4 separate regions of the Homo sapiens genome follow, and regions 2, 3 and 4 are each linked to region 1. Evidence: promoter capture Hi-C in human tissues and cell types (Jung and others, 2019). All regions are on one chromosome and are shown on one strand. Each heading gives the region's core, a stretch centred on a gene start or on the middle of the fragment in contact. The rest is flanking DNA. Distances are from core to core; before and after follow the strand shown. Region 1 overlaps ZNF221 (zinc finger protein 221). Region 2 holds the start of ETHE1 (ETHE1 persulfide dioxygenase). Region 3 holds the start of PLAUR (plasminogen activator, urokinase receptor). Region 4 holds the start of CADM4 (cell adhesion molecule 4).

What was found. Contacts are between HindIII fragments. The study calls those that stand out against the background at their distance.
Region 2: the fragment with the promoter of ETHE1 here is called in contact with a fragment that was not itself captured in region 1 in 1 of the 25 tissues and cell types used here (spleen).
Region 3: the fragment with the promoter of PLAUR here is called in contact with a fragment that was not itself captured in region 1 in 2 of the 25 tissues and cell types used here (IMR-90 fibroblasts and dorsolateral prefrontal cortex).
Region 4: the fragment with the promoter of CADM4 here is called in contact with a fragment that was not itself captured in region 1 in 5 of the 25 tissues and cell types used here (H1 embryonic stem cells, IMR-90 fibroblasts, aorta and 2 more).

The regions. Positions count from the first base shown.
Region 1 is chr19:43,959,903-43,965,955 of GRCh38, reverse strand. ZNF221 (zinc finger protein 221) reads right to left here. Exons shown (of 5, transcript NM_001297588.2): 2 at 3,149-3,231; 3 at 880-1,006; 4 at 631-723; 5 at 1-152. The coding sequence starts at 3,229. Among named protein-coding and RNA genes, the nearest start is that of ZNF221, 12 kb to the right of the region's middle. The HindIII fragment of the contact is 7,430 bases long and covers 718-6,053 here.
Region 2 is chr19:43,525,951-43,531,586 of GRCh38, reverse strand. It overlaps ETHE1 (ETHE1 persulfide dioxygenase), which reads left to right and starts at 4,386. Exons shown (of 7, transcript NM_014297.5): 1 at 4,386-4,490; 2 at 4,928-5,072; 3 at 5,238-5,386. The coding sequence starts at 4,410. It also overlaps a transcript of ZNF575 not described here. RefSeq lists silencers at 261-432, 4,235-4,424 and enhancers at 5,035-5,214, 4,730-5,234, 5,235-5,636. The HindIII fragment of the contact is 5,540 bases long and covers 427-5,636 here.
Region 3 is chr19:43,668,689-43,674,530 of GRCh38, reverse strand. PLAUR (plasminogen activator, urokinase receptor) reads left to right here and starts at 4,362. Exons shown (of 7, transcript NM_002659.4): 1 at 4,362-4,465. The coding sequence starts at 4,411. LOC124904724 (a long non-coding RNA gene) reads right to left here and starts at 5,767. Exons shown (of 3, transcript XR_007067264.1): 1 at 5,348-5,767; 2 at 4,051-4,505. RefSeq lists an enhancer at 4,294-4,593 and silencers at 5,514-5,593, 5,634-5,842. The HindIII fragment of the contact is 20,050 bases long and covers 1-5,842 here.
Region 4 is chr19:43,636,952-43,642,819 of GRCh38, reverse strand. It overlaps CADM4 (cell adhesion molecule 4), which reads left to right and starts at 2,970. Exons shown (of 9, transcript NM_145296.2): 1 at 2,970-3,093. The coding sequence starts at 3,030. RefSeq lists a silencer at 2,947-3,086. The HindIII fragment of the contact is 16,381 bases long and covers 1-5,868 here.

The sequences.
Region 1 (6,053 bases), core at 3,183-5,682:
ATCACCTTCTTTGAAGAACTGAGAGCTGTTCCTTATGGAGTTTTGAGACCTGGTTAGGTCACTTGCAATTTGTTCCCATATTTGCTGACAGGACCACTCTTCATGTGGTCCTGCTTCTGGAACAGTCTCCATCTCAATTTGGATCTTGCCTCCTAAAAAGACACAGAATTAATATATGTGGGCAAGTGAAGCCCTATTCAATGTTTTCAAGATTTCACACTTAGGACATGGCATTAAACTTTAATGAAAACAGGAAACATTAAGTTCATGTTTTCCGAGTGCACTATGGTCTTTGGTTTTCAAGAGAACAATTTAGAACCACATCACATCTCATATGTAAAATCCTGGTAGAAATAAAAGACTGAATTAAATAATTAATAACATACATACACTTAACCCGTTACTAATTCTGGTAAATTTCCTAGTCTAAAATCTTGTATGATAAATTATTAAACTAATAAAATATGAACATGAATAATGAAGCCAAAGGAACTTTAAAGAAGGAAGGCAGTTGCAATAAGTTATGAAAGAAGTTTGGCAATTTAGACCAGGGTGATGGAAATAGGCATGGACAGAAGTAAAACAGATGGAAGAGTCATGTACAAGGATGCACAGTTACTTGGTTCTTACCTGAATTCCCTTCTCTTTGGCTTGTTGTCTTCATCTTCCAAAACTTTTCCTTCCCTAAGAAGTGGAAAGTATCTTGGTGGAATGGTTGATTCCCTGTGAACACACAGTGACATGCTTAATTCCAACCCATTGTAGGTAATATCTAGGGAAAATTTACTGGAAATTTAGGTTCCCAATGCATACTCAAACTTGGAATACAAAGCCATTCCTGGGGCCTAACATTCTGTTACAGAGGGTGCCTGTCCTCACCTACTGAGAGCAGGTTCCTGAAGTTCTCTAGCATCACATCTCGGTACAGCTTCCTCTGGGCAGGGTCCAGCAGCCCCAGCTCCTCCTCAGTGAAGACCACAGCCACATCCTTGAATGTCACTGCCTCCTAAAATATCCAACATACAAAACCTAAATCTTATGACCAATGATTATTCAAAGAAGGGTGGCACTAAGTAGGCAAAGGGGACAGGTGTGGTAAGTTGTCCTAGATCTTGAGGGATGTAGGTCAACATACAGATTTCCCACTCATTCTGCCTATATCCTGACAATGACACACGCAGATTTTCATGAGCTTCATCAGAAGTGCAATGATATAAAAGAAGTCCTGTACTTTTACTTTGTGCAGTCATTGAGTCTACTTGTAAGTAGCCCTCTAGGACTCTACATGCTGCCTCCTGGGCTACAGGTATTTAGGTTTTAGTGTGTTGTTGCCAATTGCCCCAGTAACATTTAGAAGTTTAGTCCCAACTTTGATAATTTCCATTGTCTTCCTCTCTTCCATTGTCTTCCTTTCATACTCAAACTGTGGATGTTGTTAACTTTTCTTTAGTATCTGTCAAACTAACCAGTATATGGTGACCTGTGTGGGACAGCTATGCATTGCATCCTCTATATGCTCAAGGCACAAACTACATACATTAGTTGCATCATTCAATGTCATGATATGGAACCATCATGCCTCAGAGCACATCCCAAAGCTTTGTCCCTTCCTAGATGTGTGGCTTTGGACAAGCTCACCTACATGCATTAGTTTCCTGTCTGTATAATGATTTTCACCTGGTATCGTTTTTTCAAGGATTAAAGAAGGAAATATATATAGCATTGGGAAAACTGTGTGGCAAAGACTAAGTATTTAATAAATATTATCTATTTTTATTATAACTGTCATTATTGTTATTTATTTCATCTCATTTCATATCTGCAAAGTATTCCAGGGCAAAAATGATCTCTTTTTATTTAAATAATGAATACTTCATATTAAATATTTTTTATTATCAATCCTGTAAAGAAAATAATTTTATATAGACTTTATTCTCCTGATTATTTAAAATAATGTCAAATGAAAATGAGAATGTCAATAAACACATTTAAAATTGTGATTACATAATTTCATACTTTCTTCCAAATTTTTTACCTACTTCCCACTCTTCCGAGTGAACACAAGTACCCTTATTCTCCTTATGATGGTTAAGAGCAGGTTGTAAATATTCCCATGGTTTCGGTAATATGATTAGGAAGAAGAATTCATTGTATTAATATCATTCTCACTTATTTGATTATAAATGAGCAGAATGGCTAACATTCCTGACCTTGGTTGCCTATGTGAATCTGAGCAGATTTCTCATATTTTATGAGTTTAAGAGGAAGATGAGACTAAAACCTGCATTCTGCTTCTCTGAGTAAATATAGTAACACAACACAAGTGATTGGCCAATCTTCCAGTATCACTGGACATTTCAAATGAAGGTACCTACTACTTTGGTAAAACTGCTTACTCCATAAAGGAATAAGAAGAGACCAATAAATAACATGCATACAAGGTATGAGTAAGGCATGGCAAACACAGAATCTAGCTCTTCCTGTGTGAAAACTCCAACAACAATATTTGTGGGAAGTAGCAGTCAGAGCCTCATGTGCTGTGCCCTGTTGAAATAATCTACCATCTATAAAACAGCCAATGTAATACATGTCAAAAGTATCCTATCTTGTTTTCAGAATTAATTTTGGGGGGAAGGGGTTATATATAGGAAAGCTGTCACAGCAGTGTTGCTTAAAACAGTAAAATTCCTAAACCACCTAAATGTCTATGAGTGTGAAGTAGTTAAAAATAAGAAGGTACATTAATTCATTGGGACTATGATACCAATATAAAAATGGAACATTATATAATATTATATAAAACGAGCACAATTTAAAATTAGAGGTATGTCATCAATAAAAATACAGTTATGAATGTACATGATGAAGAATACAAGATAAAAACAGCTAATTTGTGAGCAGAGAAGTAGTGAAGTGAAAGAATTATCCATTCCTACTATTTTATCTACTACAGAAAAGAAATTATGTAAGAAAACAAGAACTAAAACCAAACGGAAAGTCAATTCAAAAGCAGCAAAGGAAGCATCTGGCAAACAAAATGCCCTCAAATGCTTGTTGTTCTCCTTGAGTCTTCCCAAGACAGATAAAAATGTGACAATATGAGTAGTAAGATGGAATTTTAACAGCAAGAGAGGCAAGCCCTACTCACTTTGAATGTGGTCATTTTTCCTTCTACTTCAGGGAATTTGCAGAGTCCTGAATGAAGCAGTTCAAGTGAAGGTGAAATCATGCCTGGAAAGTGCCAGGAAAGGCAGAAAAACAGACAGGAAATGGTAACTAGGAATGCCGACCACCAACATAGACAAGTATTTTCAATTAGCACATGAATGTTCATAGCAGCATTACTCATAACCCCAAACTGCAAACAAGCAAAATGCCCTCCTACGGGTAAATGAATAGACAAATCATGGCATATCCATACAACAGAATTTTATTTGGAAATTCAAAGGAGTGAAGAACTGGCTCATGCTACAACATGTATGAACCTTGGAAACATTATGCTAAGTTAAAGAAGCCAGTCTAAAAACCCCATGGATTGTAAAATTCAATTTTATAAAATATCCAGAATAAGCAAATGTATATATAGAGAAAGTAGGTTAGTGGTTGCTCCAGATTTGAGGTGAGAATGAGGTTTAACTGTACATAAGCACAAGGAGTCCAATTGGGGGGCGAAAATGATCTAAACTGAATTATGATGACGGTCACACCACTGTTCAAAGTTCCTGAAGATTATTAAATCGTACGACTGAAATGGGTAAATTCTATGACATGTAAAATACACCTCAATAAAGTTGGAAATAATAACAGTTAATCTACATGTTATTTAACTGGATTGTGGGTCCATATTGATAGAATATTTATAGTTGAAGAAACTGATTAATAAATCAGGGAGAAGTGGAAGCTAATCTTTACAGGATAATGCCCACTAATAATGTATCTCCCGTAAGAAACGTTTTTATTTTCAAAATTTAATTAAAAAGTAACCTTTCAGTGGAAAAATCTGAAAGATATCATCTTGGCCAAGTGAACAAAGTTGAGATCTCCAATGAAGGGAAAAACAGACATCATTTGGCCCCTGTTATGACACTTCAACACTTCTGTGGTATCCACACCAACAATGCATAATCTGAACCTAAACATGAAATACATAAATCCCAAATGACTATCTTTCTATAAAATACTTTGCCTATATACTTCAAGGATGTCAAGAATAAAAAGACAAAGCCTGTTGAATCTTTCTAGATTAAAGAAGACTACAGAAATGTGACACCTAAAAGCAGTACATAAAATTGGACTTTGGACTGGGGGATGGGGGAAAACAGTTACAAGAACTTTAAAAAGCACAACAAATTTAAATATGGGAGTTTGGATAGAAAAGATGATGGTGTCTAGCCATATCTAATAGGTAACAGAATTAACTAATATTAATAGTCTTTTAATTGATATCTAGTATTTAATAGTGATATTACTTAATATTATATCTAATACTACCTAGCATCTTATATGAAACTCTATAGCCAGCCCTTCCTAAATGCCTCTTACCAAGACACTCCATGATCACCTTGCTATGTGGGGTTCCTTGATGCAGAAAGCTACAATAAGTTGTTTCTCATTATAAGTTTGTTCCCAGTGGTATTTGGCTGATGGGTGTTAACAAAGCAAAATACAAAATGTAAATAATTGGAAAATTTGGGTAAAGAGCATATGAAGAGGCAGGTGCTGTGGCTTGAGCCTGTAATCCCAGCTACTTGGGAGGCTGAGGCAGGAGGATAGCTTGAGTCTAGGAGTTAAAGGCTGCAGCAAGTTAGGATTGTGCTACTGTACTCCAGCCAGGGCTCTTAAAGCTCCAACATAATCCTTGACTCCATGTCCCACATCCTGGTATAAGAGATAGACTCCCAAGGCCTTGGGCAGCCAAGTGATATGACTGAGCAGTGGTCTCAGGACCACTTCTCAGAGGGCAGTGGTCCCCTTACCACAGATCCATTAGGTAGTGCCCTAGTGGGGACTCTGTGGGGAGCCCTCACATTTCTCCTTGGCACTGCCCTGGTAGAGGTTCTCTGTTGGGGCTCCCCCACTGTGGCAGGCTTCTGACTGGGATCCCAGGCTTTCTCATACATCCTTTGAAATCTAGGTAGAAGCTGCCAAGCCTCCTTCATGCTTGCATTCTGAGCATCTGCAGCCTTAACACAATGTGGAAACTACCACAACTATCAAGGCTTGAACCCTCTGGAGCTGCAACCCAGCCTGCGCCTGGGGCACTCTAAGCTGAGGCTGGAGCCAGAGTGGCCGGATTCAGGGCACAATGTCTTGAGGCTGCTCAGGGCAGGGGGTCCCTGGGCCTGGCCCTTGGAACCATTCTTTTCTCCTAGGCCCCTAGGCCTGTGATGGGAGGGACTTTCCTGAAGACTTCTGAAATGTCTTCCAGGTCTTTTTCCCATTGTCTCAGATATTACCACTTGGCTTTCTGTTAGTCATGCAAATCTCTTTTGCGAGTGGTTGCTCCACAGCCGACATGTATTCCTCTCCTAAAAATGCTTTTTCTTTCTCTACTAAATGGCCAGGCTGCAAATTTTCCAAACTTTTATACTCTGCTTACCTTTTAAATATAAATTCCAACTTTAAGTCATTTTTTTGCTCCCATATATAATTGTAGGCTGTTTGAAGCAGTGAGGCAGCCAGGCCACTTCTTGAATGCTTTGCTGCTCAGAAATTTCTTTTGCCAGGTACCCTAAGTTATCACTCTTAAGTTCAAGCTTCCAGAAATCCCTAGGGCATGAACACAAAGCAGCAAAGTTCTTTGCTAGGACATAACATGGGTGACCTTTACTCCAGTTCCCAATAACTTCCTCATTTCCATCTGAGATCTCATCAGCCTGGACTTCATTGTCCATATTCCCACCAGCATTTTGGTCACAGCTATTTAATCAGTCTGTAAGAAGTTCCCATGGCTCAGTGAAAAAGTTAAAAAAAAAAAAGTTCCAAGTTTTCCCTCATCTTCTTATCTTCTTCTGAGCCCTCCAAACTTTTTCCAACCTCTGCCCATTAGCCAG
Region 2 (5,636 bases), core at 3,137-5,636, 430 kb after region 1:
TTTTTGAGATGGAATCTCGCTGTGTCCCCCAGGCTGGAGTGCAGTGGCGCAATCTTGGCTCACTGCAACCTCTGCCTCCCGAGTTCAAGCGATTCTCCTGCTTCAGCCTCCCAAGTAGCTGGGATTACAGGTGTTCACCACAACACCCAGCTAATTTTTGTATTTTTAGTAGAGACAGGGTTTCACCATGTTGGCCAGGCTGGTCTCGATCTCCTGACCTCGTGATCCACCCGTCTTGGCCTCCCAAAGTGCTGGGATTACAGGGGTGAGCCACTGTGCCCACCTCTTTCTTTTTTTGCACGGAGTCTTGCTCTGTCACCCAAGCTGGTGTGCAGTGGCGAGATATCAGCCCACTGTAACCTCCACCTCCCAGGTTCAAGTGATTCTCCTGCTTCAACGTCCTGAGTAGCTGGGATTACAGGTGCCCGTCACCACGCCTGGCTAATTTTTTTTTTTTTTTTTGTATTTTTGGTAAAGATGGAGTTTCACCATGTTGGCCAGGCTGGTCTCAAACTCCTGACCTCAGGTGATCCGCCCACTTCGGCCTCCCATGGTGCTGGGATTTCAGGTGTGAGCCACCGCGCCCAACCTCTAGGGCCACAGCTATTTTCAAGAACCATGATTTTAAGAAGGCAGAGTAGAAGCCAGAAGACCAGTGAGGGTATTGTTATATATTAATTACAGTATTAATTGCTAGCACTTATTATACACTGGAAACTGTCCTTATGTGCATTAATTTATTTAATCCCCATAGCAATGTTTTAAGAGGAGGTGCTACTATCATCCTTGTACAGAGGAGGAAAATGAAGTGTGGAGGGGAAGGTCATCCCAGCCAGGAAGTATCAGAGCCAGGATTTGAATCCCTCAGCCTGGCCCTGCAGTCCAGGCAATTTGCATTTATGCTTTGCTGCCCCTTGAATGGGGCAGAGGGTGTGATAACAGAAAAGTGGCCTGGTTAAGATAGGTTAAATCTGGCTGGGCACGGTGGCTCGGCCCTGTAATCCCAGCACTTTGGGAGGCTGAGGCAGGTGGATTACTTGGGGTCAGGAGTTCCAGACCAGCCTGGCCAACATGGTGAAACCCCATCTTTACTAAAACTACAAAAATTAGCTGGGTGTGGTGGTGTGCACCTGTAATCCCAGCTACTTGGGAGGCTGGGGCAGAAGAATCTCTGGAACCCAGGAGGCGGAGGTTGCAGTGAGCTGAGATTGCACCACCGCACTCTAGCCTGGGCAACAGAGCAAGACTCCATCTCAAAAAAAAAAAAAAAAAAAAAGAGAGAGAGTTTAACTCAGCAGGGCCTGGAAGTGGGTGGAGGTGGCAAGGGTAGGAAGGAGTCAAGGATAGTGACAAAATAATGATGGGCAGTTCCCATTGAGAGCCTGTGCTATGTCAGGCTATTGAACTATTTTCAACCTCATTTTGTAGATAAGAAAACTGGAACCCAGAAGAAGATAAGTTTTCAGCCCAAGGTCCTACACCTGAGAAGGGTGAAGCCAAGTCTAACTCTTAGAACATCTCACAGCTGAGCCTATAAACCCTGCCTAGGGTGTGTCTTCAAAGGACACATAAATGGTCTAGAAATTCTGCAAAAACAACGGGAAAGGGTGCCAGGGGCGAGAAGTTCTTATTTGGGGGACCCTCTCAGTAAGGAGTGCCTGAGGGTCTTCCTTTCCCTGGCTCCTCCCTCCCCTGAGTTCCCCAAATCCCTACACCTCCCTGTGTCTCAGACCTGCTTTCCCTACCTCTCTCGCCTACCAGCCAGACTGAGTCACCTCTGGGTCCTCAGCTTTGTCTAGCTTGAGTCAGGCATGCATGAGACCTCATGCCTGGAATTTTTTTTTTTTTTGAGACGGAGTCTCGCTCTGTCGTCCAGGCTGGAGTGCAGTGGCACGATCCCGGCTCACTGCAAGCTCCGCCTCCCGGGTTCACGCCATTCTTCTGCCTCAGCCTCGAGAGTAGCTGGGACTACAGGCATCCGCCACCATGCCCGGCTAATTTTTTGTATTTTTTTTGAGTAGAGACGGGGTTTCACCGTGTTAGCCAGGATGGTCTCAATCTCCTGACCTCGTGATCCACCCGCCTTGGCCTCCCAAAGTGCTGGGATTACAGGCGTGAGCCACCGCACCTGGCCTTTTTTTTTTAGACACTCTCGCTCTGTTGCCCAGACAGGGTTTTGCTATGTTGCAGAGGTGCAATCTTGGATCACTGCAAACTCTGCAACCTCTGCCTCTTGGGTTCAAATGATTCTCATGCCTCAGCTTCCCAAGTAGCTGGGTCTACAGGCGTGCCCCACCACGCCCAGATAATTTTTTTGTATTTTATTTTATTTTTTTCAGTAGAGATGGGGTTTTACCATGTTGGCCAGGCTGTCTCAAACTCTTGACCTCAAGTGATCTGCCCACCTAGGCCTCCCAAAGTGCTCAAAGTGCCTGTGCATGAGCTCAGCCATATGCTTTTTTTTTTTTTTTTTTTTTTTTTTTGAGATGGAGTCTCCATCACCCAGGCTGGAATGCAGTGGCACGATCTCAGCTCACTGCAACCTCCACCTCCCGAGTTCAGGCAATTCTCCTGCCTCAGCCTCCTGAGTAGCTGGGATAACAGGTGTGCACCACCACACCCAGCTAATTTTTATATTTTTAGTAGAGATGGTGTTTCACCATGTTGGTCAGGCTGGTCTTGAACTCCTGACCTCGTGATCCGCCCGCCTCAGCCTCCCAAAGTGCTGGGATTACAGGCATGAGCCACCGCGCCCAGCCGGCCACATAAAATTTTAATGAAGCAATTTGATAGGCTTAAGGAAAAGCAGGCCTTCTCTGTGTAAAGGCATTCACACAGGGGCTGCTCTGAAAATAGCTCCAGGGACCATTCCCTGGAAACTCCAGAATTAAGATAAATGTTGTTGCAGGAAACCCCTCCTCAGAAGCTGTGGGACAGGATAACTCAGTGGTTCATACCTGTAATCCCAGCATTTTGGGAGGCCCAGGTGGGAGGACCATTTGAGGCCAGGAGCTGGAGACCAGCCTAGGCAACATAGCAAGACCCCTGTTTCTACAAAAAAAATTCTAACAATTAAAAAAAAAAAAAAAAGCTCTGCCCCTAGGCTGGAAATCAAGGCTGCTCTGATGTCACAAAGTGACATAGATCCTCCAGATGAGAGTGGGATGTCCTATTCTCACTACTGCTACGATTACAAAGAGCAGACTTTCTGACAGCTCATGACTTGAGACTACAGTTTTTCAGCCCCAGGTCCTTGGTGTAAATGAACACAAGCTCTTTTCAGAGGTTCACACCCCAACAGAAGATGAATAATCCCCAATCTGATTATTCAAGAGATAATGCAAAATTATCTTTTTTTTTTTTTTTAAGATTTCTTCCTGGAAAGAGAGAAACATTCCTGATAAAATGCTTATGCAATTTCTGGATGAACTTTAATGGGATCAAGTGTTGTTCTGGTAACCAGGCACCCACTCAAAAGTCCCTCAAGATATTAATGACCTGGAACCGAACGAATATCTTTTTTTTTTGAGACAGAGTCTCCCTCTGTCGCCCAGGCTGGAGTGCAGTGGCGTCATCTCTACTCACTGCAACCTCTGCCTCCCGGAACCGAACATCTTTTTCTAACCATGACTATCCTACCACCTGCTAGAAAACGGCCCCACGGGACGCGGTGGCTCACGTCTGTAATCCCAGCACTTTGGGAGGACAAGGTGGGAGGAACGCTTGAGCTCAGGAGTTCGAGATCAGCCTGGGCAACATAGTGAGAACTCCGTCTCTGCAAAAAACAAATTTTATATACATGTATGTGTGTGTGTGTGTGTATATATATATATGTATATAAATATATATATAGATATAAATATATATATATAAAATGTCGGGTGTGGTGGCAACGTGCCATAGTCCCAGCTACTCGGGAGGCTGAGGTTGGAGGATCGCTTGAACCCGGGAGTTTAAGGCTGTAGTAAGCTGAGATCGAGTCACTGCACTCAAGCCTGCGTGACAGAGCGAGACTCTGTCTCAAAATAAAACAAAAGAAAAAGGAAAAAAAACGGCCCCGAGGCTATGAGTGTACTGGGGCCTCTCCCTGGGTTTCTACTTCTCTCCCTATCTCTGTTCCTACATGAGTATGTCTGTGTGTCTCTGAGCGTCTGTCCCTCGCACTTTGAGTGTCTCCCTGTTCTCTGTTTTTTCTGGGTCTCAAAGCGTCCAGGCATTGCACTCTGGCTTTCCTCGGTCTCGCCCTCGCCCCAGTCCCGCTCGGCGGTCCCCCGCCCTCTGCCCCAGGCGTCCGTGGCCCCTTTAAGGCGTGCTCCGCCCCCGCCCCGCCCTTCCCGGGGTCAGTGCCGTAGCGCCCGGCTCCTGCAGGCGCTCGGCCTCCGCTCATTCCTGACCCCGCAGTGGGCGCGATGGCGGAGGCTGTACTGAGGGTCGCCCGGCGGCAGCTGAGCCAGCGCGGCGGGTCTGGAGCCCCCATCCTCCTGCGGCAGGTGCGGGTGGCTGGACCTAGGAGGGGACTGCTGGGCACTAGGCGGCAGCAAGGACGGAACTCCGGGGTCTCTTAATAGGGAGAGATCCGGGGGGACCCACGCCTGCATCTTGCGGAAAGCGGGGTGGAGGTTTAGGGCTGGACTCTTGGGTCCTTTAAAGGTGAGTGGTCTGGGGGCCTCTGGGCTTGGGGCCAGACCCCTGGGTCCTCTATGAAAGAACGTGCTGGGGACCCTGATTTTGGGATGTTAGGAAGTTGGAACTCTTTTGTTCTGATAGGGGAAGGTAGTGGGGCTCCGGACTCCCGACTCCCGGGGAAAGAGTGGGCTGGGGTTTCTGCTTCTGGATCTTAGGAAGAGGATAGGGTCAGTCTGGACTACTTGGCCTCCAGTGGGTGGAAGTCCGGTTCTGCGCCCTCACCTGGGTCCCCCGTTCCCAGATGTTCGAGCCTGTGAGCTGCACCTTCACGTACCTGCTGGGTGACAGAGAGTCCCGGGAGGCCGTTCTGATCGACCCAGTCCTGGAAACAGCGCCTCGGGATGCCCAGCTGATCAAGGAGCTGGGGCTGCGGCTGCTCTATGCTGGTCAGTCCGGGGACCAAACTCATGGATCCCAGCGGGGCTGGGCTGCAGCGTCAGTGGAATGGGAAGCTGGGGCCCAGAACTCCTGAGTCTGAGGGAGAAGGATCTGGGCTGGGACTCCCAGGTCCTTTCTGTACCCTCCGGACCTGTCCCTCCTCTCTCTCCCAGTGAATACCCACTGCCACGCGGACCACATTACAGGCTCGGGGCTGCTCCGTTCCCTCCTCCCTGGCTGCCAGTCTGTCATCTCCCGCCTTAGTGGGGCCCAGGCTGACTTACACATTGAGGATGGAGACTCCATCCGCTTCGGGCGCTTCGTGAGTTGGGTGCTGGGTCCCCAAGAGGGTGGTGGCCTGGACTTCTTAAACTTAAGGGAAGAGGGGACTGGGGGCCTGGGATCCTGAGTCCTTGGGGAGGAGGGACCTCAGGACCTGGGTTTCTGACCCCTGAGCTCATATTTCTGGGAGGGGGGCACCATAAACCCAGGTGGGGCACTGGGGCAAGAGGCTCTGGGCAGGTGGGGCACTGGCGGAACTCCTAAGTCAACAGCATTTAAGGAGTTTCCTT
Region 3 (5,842 bases), core at 3,113-5,612, 290 kb after region 1:
CCAGCTGAGAAAACTGAGGCTCAGAAAGAAGAATGTCATTGGCCCAGGGTGACCCAGCCAGGGAAGTGCCCACTTCAGCAGCTGACGCGTGATAACTGTTGACGTCAGACTCAATGACAGGCCTCCATCTCCCTTCCTACTCCAGGAAGAGGTGAATGTCCAGAGTTGCAACAATGATAATACTGGCAGCTATCGCTTTTATTGAGCACATACTATGTACCAGGCACTGTGGCAAGCATCTTAGGAGCATTCTTCTTTTTGTTTGTTTGTTTGTTTGTTTTAGATGGAGTCTAGCTCTGTCGCACAGGCTGGAGTGGAGTGGTGCGATCTCGGCTCACTGCAATCTCTGCCTCCCAGGTTCAAGCAATTCTCGTGCCTCAGCCTCCTGCGTAGCTGGGACTACAGGTGCATGCCACCACACCTAGCTAATTTTTTTGTATTTTTTAGTAGAGACAGGGTTTTGCCATGGTGGCCAGGCTGGTCTTGAACTCCTGACCTCAAGTGATCCACCTGCCTTGGTCTCCCAAAGCACTGGTATTATAGACATGAGCCACCATGCTCAGTCATTTTAGGTGGATTCTTTTACCTCCGCAGTACACCAGCCCTGGGAGGGTGATACTTGCTATCTCTACTTTCCAGATAAGGGGCTTGGGCACAGAGATAGATTAAGTAACCTGCTAGAGGTGACACAGCCAATATGTAGATGCAATTTAGATTTTCACAATCTGAGACCAGCTCCCACACTCTTAACCATTGGGCTATACTACCTCTTAGGAAATTCTCTGGGAGTTCTTTTTTTTTTTTTTTTCAGTCTCACTTTTGTTGCCCAGGCTCGAGTTCAGTAGCTCGATTTTGGCTCACTGCAGCCTCAAACCCCTGGGGCTCAAGTGATCCTCCCACCTCAACCAGAGAGTAGCTGAGACCACAAGTGTGCACCACGACACCTGGCTAATTTTTCTATTTTTCATAGAGACAAGGTCTCGCTATGTTGTCCAGGCTGTAATTTTATTTTTTTATAGATACAAGGTCTTACTATGTTGCCCAGGGTGGTCTCGAACCCCTGAGCTCAAGCAATCCTCCAGCCTTCGCCTCCCAAAGTGCTGAGATTATAGGCATGAACCACTGTGCTCACCATTGGGAGTTTTTTTGTTTTTTGTTTTCTAACCTTATCTTAAAATCATTAGCTTACAGCTTCAATGAGTTAGTAAGAATCACATAGTACAGGCTGGAAGCGGTAGCTCATGTCTGTAATTTCAGCAATTTGGGAGGCCAAGGTGGGTGGATCACCTGTAGTCAGGAGTTAGAGACCAGCCTGGCAGACATGGTGAAACCCCATCTCTACTAACAATACAAAAATTAGGGCCGGGTGCGGTGGCTCACCCCTGTAATCCCAGCACTTTGGGAGGCTGAGGCAGGTTGATCATCTGAAGTCAGGAGTTCGAGACCAGCCTAGCCGACATGGCGAAACCCCATCTCTACTAAGAATACAAAAATTAGGGCTGGGCGCAGTGGTTCAAGCCTGTAATCCCAGCATTTTGGGAGGCTGAGGCGGGTGGATCACCTGAAGTCAGGAGTTCAAGACCAGTCTGGCCAGCATGGTGAAACCCCATCTCTACTAAAAATGCAAAAAATTCGCCAGGCATGGTGGAGAATGCCTGTAATCTCAGCTACTCAGGAGGCTGAGGCAGGAGAACCTCTTGAACCTGGGAGGCAGAAGTTGCAGTGAGCCGAGACCGTGCCATTGCACTCCAGCCTGGGTAACAAGAAAGAAACTCCGACTCAAAAAAAAAAAAAAAATAGCCAGGCATGCATGAGAATCCCTTGAACCTGGGAGGTGGAAGTTGCAGTGAGCCGAGACCACGCCATTGCATCCAGCCTGGGAGACAAAGTGAGACTCTGTCTCAAAAACAACAACAACAACGACAACAAATCACATAGTATAATCATTATTACAGCAGTAGAAGTAGCTACCACTTACTCATCCCCTACGACTCTCTTCCTCTCCTAATCTGTTCCAGCCACACTGACATCTCTTCTGTTCCTAGAATCTCATCAGGCTTCCACCTCAAGGCCTTTGCACTGGTTGTTCCTGCTCCTTGGAAAGGTTCCCTGCCCATCTGCCCTACTTCTTCCCTCACTGCATTCAGCCTCTGCTTGAATGCCACTTGCTCAGGGAACCCCTCCTGGATCACCCACCTAAAACAGCTCACACCTCATTTGCACCCAGATACTTCCTTCAGCCTGCTTTGTTTTCTCCAGTTTGCTTATCCCTCTCAGACAGTGAAAGATTAGATAACACATATCTGCTCCCCACTGTCAACACAACAAAAGGTGGGAACTTTGCTTTGCGTCCTGCTGTGCCCCTAGCTCCTGGACCAGTGCCCAGCACAAAGTAGGTCCTTGGTAGATGTTAAAGGAATGTGTTGAGCCCTCCATTTCGGCCAGCAGCTATTCCAGGCATTGCACCTACATTAAATTGCTCTGTTTAGTTAGATGCATCCTAAGACGGGGAGACAATTTTATCTTTAGTATTTTATTTTACTTAAAAAAAAAAAAAACTTGGCCAGGTGCAGTGGCTCATGCCTGTAATCCCAGCACTTTGGAAGGACAAGGCAGGTGGATCACCTGAGGTCAGGAGTTCGAGACCACCCTGACCAACATGGTGAAACCCCATCTCTACTAAAAATACAAAAATTAGCCGGGTGTGCTGGCGTGCCCCTGTAATCCCAGTTACTCAGGAGGCTGAGGCAGGAGAATTGCATGAACCCAGGAGGCGGAGATTGCAGTGGCCGAGATTGCACCACTGCACTCTAGCCTGGGTGACAGAGTGAGACTTCGTCTCAATAAATAAATAAATAAATAATAAAAAGAAAGAAAAAACTTATTATAAGCCTTTTCAAACCCACAGAAAAGGAGACAGAATGGCATAATATGCCCTTATATACTGATTACCTTTATATAATTGATACAACCATTTGGCTATTTTGCCTTTATTTTCTACTCAAGTATTTATTTATTTATTATTTTTTTGAGACAGGGTCTCGCTCTGTTGCCCAGGTTGGAGTGCAGTGGTGCAATCATAGCTCACTGCAGCTTCCAGTTCCCAGGTTCAAGCGGTCCTCCCACCTTAGCCTCCCAACTACCTAGGACTACAAGTACGGGCCACTGCACCCAGCTAATTTTATTTTATTTTTAATTTCTTTTGGAAAGATGAGGGCTCTTTATGTTTCCCAAGCTGATCTTGAACTCCTGGCCCCAAGTGATCCTCCTGCCTTGGCTTCCCAAAGCATTGGTGTTACAGGCATGAGCCACCTCATCTGACCTCTTCTAAAATATTATAAAATAAATACAGACATCAAAATGAAAACAAAAGAAAAAGAAAAAACAAAACAAAAATCCCCAAAACAACAACAACAAAAAATGCAGACATCAATAACATTCACCACTAAATACTCTAGTAAGCATCTGCAAAAACAAACAAACAAACAAAAACCAGAATCCCACCTAAGCATACAGCCATTGTCGTAACAGTGATATCTACTTTTTTGGCTGAAGTGTCTTTTTTTTTTTTTTTTTTTTTTTCTGTGAGAAGGAGTCTTGTTCTGTTGCCAGGCTGGAGTGCAGTGGCACGATCTCGGCTCACTGCAACCCAACCTCCGCCTCCCGGGTTCAAGCGATTCTCCTGCCTCAGCCTCCTAAGTAACACACACACGCCACTACGCCCGGCTAATTTTTGTATTTTTAGTAGAGACGGGGTTTCACCATTAAGTGTTTTAATGTAGGTGCAATGCCTGGAATAGCTGCTGGCCAAAATGGAGGGCTCAACACATTCCTTTAACATTTACCAAGGACCTACTTCGTGCTGGGCACTGGTCCAGGAGCTGGGGGCACAGCGGGAAGCAAAGCAAGGGTTAAGTGTTTTAAGTGTTTAAGAGATGCATATTTCAGGATGCATCTCTAGATAAGGACATTTTCCAAAATACCAGTATCCCTCCTGACAAAACTAACAAAAATCCTGTTAGCCAAATAATCAGCCACATTCATATTTACCGTCAAAGTTTTTATCCTCATTTTACAGCAGTGGAGAGCGATTGCCCCGGGTCCCACGTTAGGAAGAGAGAGAACTGGGATTTGCACCCAGGCAATCTGGGGACAGAGCTGTGATCACAACTCCATGAGTCAGGGCCGAGCCAGCCCCTTCACCACCAGCCGGCCGCGCCCCGGGAAGGGAAGTTTGTGGCGGAGGAGGTTCGTACGGGAGGAGGGGGAGGCGCCCACGCATCTGGGGCTGACTCGCTCTTTCGCAAAACGTCTGGGAGGAGTCCCTGGGGCCACAAAACTGCCTCCTTCCTGAGGCCAGAAGGAGAGAAGACGTGCAGGGACCCCGCGCACAGGAGCTGCCCTCGCGACATGGGTCACCCGCCGCTGCTGCCGCTGCTGCTGCTGCTCCACACCTGCGTCCCAGGTAGGGGCTGGGTCCCGAACGCCTGCGCCTGGAACAGGGTCTAATTGAGGGGGTTGGGGGTTGTCAGAGGATGAGTTGGAGGAATGCGGTTCAGTCCTCAGCATCCTCCCTAATCAAATAATAGTAATTCTCGTGCTTTGTGCAACGCCACGCGGCGCAGTACCTGGCACTCAGTAGCTAAGGAAATATTAGTGGAGCAAAGGCATTTAGCTTTACATAATTTAGTGAGTGCTTTTTTTTTTTTTTTTTTTTTTTTGACAGAGTCTCACTCTGTCGCCCAGGCTGGAGTGCAGTGGCGCGATCTCGGCTCACTGCAACCTCTGCCGCCCGGGTTCAAGCGATTCTCCTGCCTCAGCCTCCTGGGTAGCTGGGATTACAGGCGCCTGCCATCGCGCCCGGCTAATTTCTGTATTTTTAGTGGAGACCGGGTTTCACTCTGTTAGCCAGGATGGTCTCAATCTCCTGACCTCAGATGATCCACCTGCCTCGGCCTCCCAAACTGCTGGGATTACAGGCGTGAGCCACCGCGCCCGGCCCAAGTGTTCTTTTTTTAAATGGAGTTCTTCGAAGCCTCTTCCTTGCAATTTCAAACTAGGCGATGGGACTTTATTAATTTCGTTTCGCAGAGGAAACTAGGGCACAGAGAGGTTAGATAACTGGCCTAAAATCACACAGCCAGTGCTTGAATACGCAGGATCTGACCCTGCAGCGCCCCCCAGCGCTCTCCACGCTGCTGGGTCTCCCCCTCTGAGAAACGGGGGGACAGGACCCCCTTTTACAAAAGGCCCAAAGGGAGGCTGACTGAGCGGCGCAGAGCCAGTGCTGGAGACCCGGGACTGTCCCTCAGGACCTTTCCCTCTCACTGAGGCGACTCTCACTTACTTCCCCGGAAAATGTGGGGGGCTCTGGGTCGAGGAATTCGAGAAGGAACTGAGTCAGGGCGGGTGGCCACAGGGTGTTGGGGCCGCGATGAATAACCCGGAAAGCGCTCGAGACCGCGGGAGGCCGGGAATGAGTAACAGCTCCGGGATACTCCGAACGCGCAGCTGGAAAGGGATGTCCGGGAAGGCCCGGAGGTCGGGGACCGGGCCTAGGGACTGGGCTGCAATCTCGGGGCGGAGCCTGGGGCGGGGAGAGAGTGTCGGGGAGGAGCCAGAGGGCGGGGCTGGAACCTCAAGGAAGAGCTACGGGAGAGGTTACAGACCGAGGAAGAGCTAGGAGCGGGGCTAGAACCTCGAGGCGGAGCCAGAGGGCGGGGTTATAACCTCGAGGCGTAACCAGAGGGCGGAGTTATAACCTCGGGAGGAGCTAGAAGGTGGGACTAGACTCTTGAGGGGCAGGATTATAACCTCGGGGAGGAGCTAGAGGGCGGGGCTG
Region 4 (5,868 bases), core at 1,721-4,220, 320 kb after region 1:
TAGCTTGTGATCAGGACCTCATTGTTAACGGCTCTGAAGTTGTTGTTCAGGAATCTTTGCTTGCAAGAAATAAAATCTGTTTGTGCTGACTTAAGCAAAAACGGTGTTATTGAAAGTTTAGAAACCAGGCAAGAGCTAGGTCTCCGAGTCTCACCAGGGACAGGCAACAATTGAAAAGCTGTGTGAAATAAAGGTTGTCTCTCTCTTGCAGAATCTTAATCACCCCAAATATGAATCTGGCCCCAGGGGTATCTGCCAGCCATCTTGCTACAGGAGGGGAGCCATGCATCCTTAGGACAGAGATTGACAGACCTCGCCAAAGCCAGCCATAGAAGGACTTTTTGTTATGTGTGAACCAGTTCTCTTTCTCTCAAACCAGTTGGGTTGCACTTGCTGTCACTTGCACTAAATCCCTAATGGACAGGGTACCCTGAAGTAGGATGGGGACAGGACCACTATTCTATTTATTATTATTATTATTATTATTATTATTATTATTATTATTATTTAGACTGAGTCTCATTCTGTCACCCAGGCTGGAGTGCAGTGGCATGATCTTAGCTCACTGCAACCTCTGCCTCCCAAGTTCAGGGGATTCTCATGCCTCAGCCTTCCGACCAGCTGGGATTACAGGCACGTGCCACCACGCCTTGCTAATTTTTTTTTTTTTTTTTGGTAAAGATGGTGTTTCACCATGTTGGCCGGTTGGTCAGGCTGGTCTCAAACTCCTGACCTCAAGTGATCGGCCCACCTTGGCCTCCCAAAGTGCTGGGATTACAGGTGTGAGCCAACGCGCCCGTCAGGACCACTACTCTTGTGATGTCTTCACATGGAATGGTGGGACTTAAGGATGACAGGTGAGAACCAAACCAACATCTCCCAAGGTTCCCCTTCAGCTGGAGCAGGAGACATCTGTCAGAGCACAGAGTGAGCGGGCCTATTGGCTCCTGCGGGAAAAGGCAACTACTAGTTACCCCTTGGACCAGTATTCCAAAGGCAGATCAAACATTCCTCTCCCATCTAGCAAAAGTCACAGAATGTGAGCCCTGGAAAGAGGATTAGAGACTATCTCTTCCCAAGTCTACAGAAGCTGGGAAGCTGAGGACTGAAAAAGAAGGAAGTTGCTCAGGGCTATGGATCTGGGGACACAGGGGCAGTTAGAAGCTTGGGCTCTCAGGACAGAGAGGATTGCTGGAGCCATCGTCCTGGGGACACAGGAGTTGATAGGAGCTTGGACCCTGAGGACAGAGAGGATGCTGGGAGCCATGGTCCTGCTTCACAGGGGTTGATGGGAGCTTGGACCTGAAGGACAGAGAGGATGCTGGGAGCCGTGGTCCTGAGGACACAGGAGTTGATGGGAGCTTGGACCCTGAGGACAGAGAAGACACTGGGAGCCATGGTCCTGGGACACAAGGGTTGATGGTAGCTATGGTTTTGAGGTCAGAAAGGATACTGGGAGCTGGGTACTGAGGACAGAAAGGGTGTGTGAAGCTGAAGTCCCTTGTGGGACTGGATGTAAAATTTTTTAGTCGGAATAAAAAGTAAGGATTTTCAGCCAGGCATGGTGGCTCACGCCTGTAATCCAGCACTTTGGGAGGCCAGACAGATGGATCACCTGAGGTAAGGAGTTCAAGACCAGCCTGGCCAGCATGGCAAAACTCCGTCTCTACTAAAAATATAAAAATTAGCTAGGCATGGTGGCGGGCGCCTGTAATCTCAGCTACTCGGGAGGCTGAGGCAGGAGAATCACTGGAACCTGGGAGGCAGAGGTTGCAGTGAGTCGAGATCGTGCCACTGCACTCCAGCCTGGGCAACAGAGCGAGACTCCGTCTGGGCGGGGAGGGGGGAGGGGGGAAGGAAAGATGTTCATAATTGGCACTTCTGGACCTCAGTTTGCCTGACAAATGGGCATGAGAGAGGTCGAGGCCTTCTTTCCATGGTTTCTCACTCTTTCTGGGTCCCATAGGTAATGATCCCGCATCAGGTCTACAGGGTGTCACAGAAGTGGGCTCAGGGAAACCCACTCCCAGGAGGGAGAAGGGACCTAAGTCTGGAGGGGTGAGTCACCCTCAAAGATGGGGAGAGAGGAAGGGCAGAGGCAAATACATGCAGAGAGAGGGAGAGAGGCTGGGGCAGGGAGACAGCAGGGAGGAGAGGGGACGCCAGGGCTTGGAAGGTGTTCACAGGAGCCTCTCCCTCCTGGGACCCAGGATTCAGGCTTCCTTCCAGTTAGTTCACTTTCAGGGGGCCCCTCCCGGAGAATGACGCGGAAACACGGGGTTTTCAGGTCAGGACAGGAGAGAGGGAGGGAGGGAACTGACCCCACCCCACTCCTGAGCCCCAGCCTCGCCCTGCCCTGGGAGATCCTTGACCTGCCTCGACCTCCGGACCCTCCGGACCTCCAGCTGCAGCCTCCCCTGTCCCGGTGGCTCAGCTCACAGCCTCTCGCTAGACTCCAGACACCCACCTGCCCGCAGCACGCCTCTCACACTCACCTTTCCCACGTCGCACTCCCTCCCTTACGCTCCCCCGTCACGCTGGCCACGCTCTCCCTTCGCACACACCGCACCCCACGACGCCCGCGCCCCCACCCTCGCACAGCCTCCAGCAACACCCTGCCACCCTCCCCTCCGCGCAGCGCAAGCACCCTGCATGCCAGCAACTCCGCACCCTCGCGCGCAGCACCTGGGCCCGCACGCAGCACCCTCACCCAACACCCTCCATTTCCCGCGCTCACCGAGATCCCCCACCTGCTCCCACGCCGCTGTCGCCCTCCCGCGCACCCCTTCCCGCCCTCCTCACCCCTCTCCTCTCCAGCTTTCGCACCCCGCACCGTTCCCCCACCGTGCCGTCCCCCCGATTGTCTCCGGGCCTCTCCTCCGTCTCCCCCTCCCCTCCCCGGCCCCGCCCCGGCCTCGGCGCCCCGCCCCCGGGCGGGCAGGGGGCGGGGCGCGGGGGGCGGGGCGGGCGGCGCGGGCGGTGCAGGTGCCGGGCCGGGAGCGAGCGGCGGCGGCGGCGGCGGCGGCACCATGGGCCGGGCCCGGCGCTTCCAGTGGCCGCTGCTGCTGCTGTGGGCGGCCGCGGCGGGGCCAGGTAGGGTCGGGGGCCGGGGTCGGCCGGCCGGGCTGGGGCGGGGGGCGCGCTGTGGTGACAGCCCGGCAGCCTCGGGGCCGCAGAGGCCGAACAATGCGCGCGGGGCCGGGCCGGGCCCCCTCCCCGGGACAAAGCGCAGCGCGGGCCGGGAGCCGGGAGCGACGAGCGGGGGAGGGGGCGCGGGGCCCGGCCGCCGTGCCGCAGCCCCCCCACCCGCGCAGGCTGGATCCCGGCGGGGACAAAGGGCCCGAGACCCCCCTACACACACAAGTCCGCCCTCCCCAGGCCGGTCCCGCTGTCCTTCTGTCCAGTCTCTGCGTCCCTCTGTCCGCCCGTCTCTGAACCCCCCCGTCTGGCTCCTCGTCCCCCTACCCTTGTCCTCTATCCCTCAGTCTCGAAGTCCTGTCCCTCCTTCTGTCTGTCTCCCTCTCTTCTTGCCTCGGTGTTCCTCATCTATTCTGTCTTTGTCCCCTACCTCTGTCCCCTGGTCTCTGTCCCCTTTTCCTGGGTCACTCTGTCCCCTCCATCATCCTGTCTATTCTCTTTCCCCCGGATTTCTGCCCTCCCTCTCTGCCCCTATTCTTGGTCCCTGTCTCTGTCTCGCTGTCACCCTTGTTTTTCTGTCCCTTTTTCTCTGTCCCCTATCTGCCCCATCCCCTTGTCTCTGTCCCCTGTCTTTCTGTCACTCGTTTCTCTAACCCTTTCTGTCACCTGTCTCTTTCCCCCTTCTCTGTCCCACTATCTCCATCCCTGTCTTTCTGCTGTGCCTCCTCTCTCTACGCTTACAGCCTCCATCCCGGGATCTCCCATTCCCATCCTACCTTCCTCCCTCTCTCTATCCCTCTGTGCCCCTGAAGAGGAATTCAGTCAGGCAGGGCATTCTAAAGAGCCCTGGAGGGGAACATCTGTGTGCATGTGTGTGGGGAAGTGAGAATGGGGGACCTTGGCGTGTAGGCACACACGTGGATTCAGCGAATGCCTCTCCAAACCCTGCTCACCCATTCACACACCCAGGCTTGACTCACAGAGAAGCCCCTGTCCAGGACATCCAGGGAGCCATCCACATACCCTCATCACACACTGTGAGAAGCTGGAGACCCCCGAGGTTGGGTGACCCTGAGAATGGGGACAAGGTCAGGAAATGTCACCCACACACACTCTCACACTGTGTAAGTCTTGAACCTGCCACGGGTCACCCCTCCCTGGTGGATAAGGCCACTTTTGGAAGGAACAGAGGATTGGAAGGTGGCTAGGCAGAAGCAGGAGGGCTGGGTGTTCGGCAGAGATTGGTGAGAGGAGTTATAACCAGGTGGCATGGGGCTGGCGGCCTGGGCTTAAATCTTGGCTCTTGCCATTTGCCATCGCAGCCAATGGTAAACACCTTCCTCTCTCCAGGCTTCTGTTTCTCTTTCTGTAAAGTGAGGATGTTGAACTCAGTGACATGAAAGGGAACGCCAGCTCAGACCGTGAAGGGGTTTCTGGCAAGTTGAGTGCGGTTACATGTTCCCCACTCCAGGGTTTGAGGCAGAGCCATCCTCACCTCGGCCAGGATGAGGGGCAAAGCTGTCCTCTCACTGTCTTTCTTTCTTCTCTAGTCTTCTGTGACTGCTTTAGAACTTGCATCATTACCTCCTTTCTTTACAACAGACATGCCACAATTTCCCAGATGAGAACTTTGGTACCTCAGTGACATTTCCATCAATTTTAATTTATCTTTATTTTTTAGGCTAAACACCAGGCTCATAGAATCCTGGAACTAATGAATCCAGTAAATAAAGAACCTGATGGTACTTTAGAATGCTGACATCTACAGGATTCTAGAATCCAGAAGGCTTTAGAATCTTGACACCTTTAAAGTTCTAGAACCGTGATGGTGTTAGCATGCTAGCATCTTGACGTCTTAAAAATCGTGAAATCTTGATGTCTTGGAGTTCCTGGATCTTGACATCTATGACATTTAGAATCCTGACAGCTTAGAATCATCAGACTTTGAATTCTCAGGATCAGAATATAGCTTAAGGTGACCACCCGCCCCGTGCAAAAGCCTTTCTCTGGTGCTTCTGGGAGTTAGGTCTACAGCCCTGTCCCTCGTTTGATTTCCAAGTCACTGCTTCCTGGCACCCTAACCCTCTCTGTAAACTTTCTCTAAAGTAAATAGTATGTGGCTTTTACCAGTAGAAACTGAGCTTGGTGTCATGGGAAGAGCTCTCAGCTGGGAGCTAAGGAACTTGGGTCCAAGCCTTACCCAGGACCCTTTAGTATAATTTTGCATCAGTCCTTGTCCCTCTCTGGGCCTTACTTTCCCGTTCTGTAAAGCATGGGGTAGGAGGCTGTAGCATGTGGTCTTGGAGGGCCCTTCCTGCTCTCCTTTCCATTGGATATTTCTCAGTGGCCTTGGCTACCACATTTTAGGGGGTATCTGTTGTTCCCACATTTCTCTCTTAGTCACTTCTTCCTCTCTCACCTTGCCCAGCCAGCAGGAATCGGGGGAGATGGGGTGCATTTGCGCCATTTTAAAAACATGTTCTCTCTCTCCTGGTTCATTCATCTTCTGAGCATAGCAGAAGAAGATGAGATTTATGCCCAAAGAAGGATCCAGGGTGGGCAGAGGAGAGAAAGCAAGAGGGAGGGATGGGTTGCCTGCCCAGGGATGCACCCAGGCAGAAATGGGACCCGCAGCCAGAAACTGGGTAGAACAGAAAGGAGGAGAGGAAACAGATATCCAATACAAAGAAAGAATAGAGAGGCTATTAGGAGTTGAGGGGTCTTGTGGAG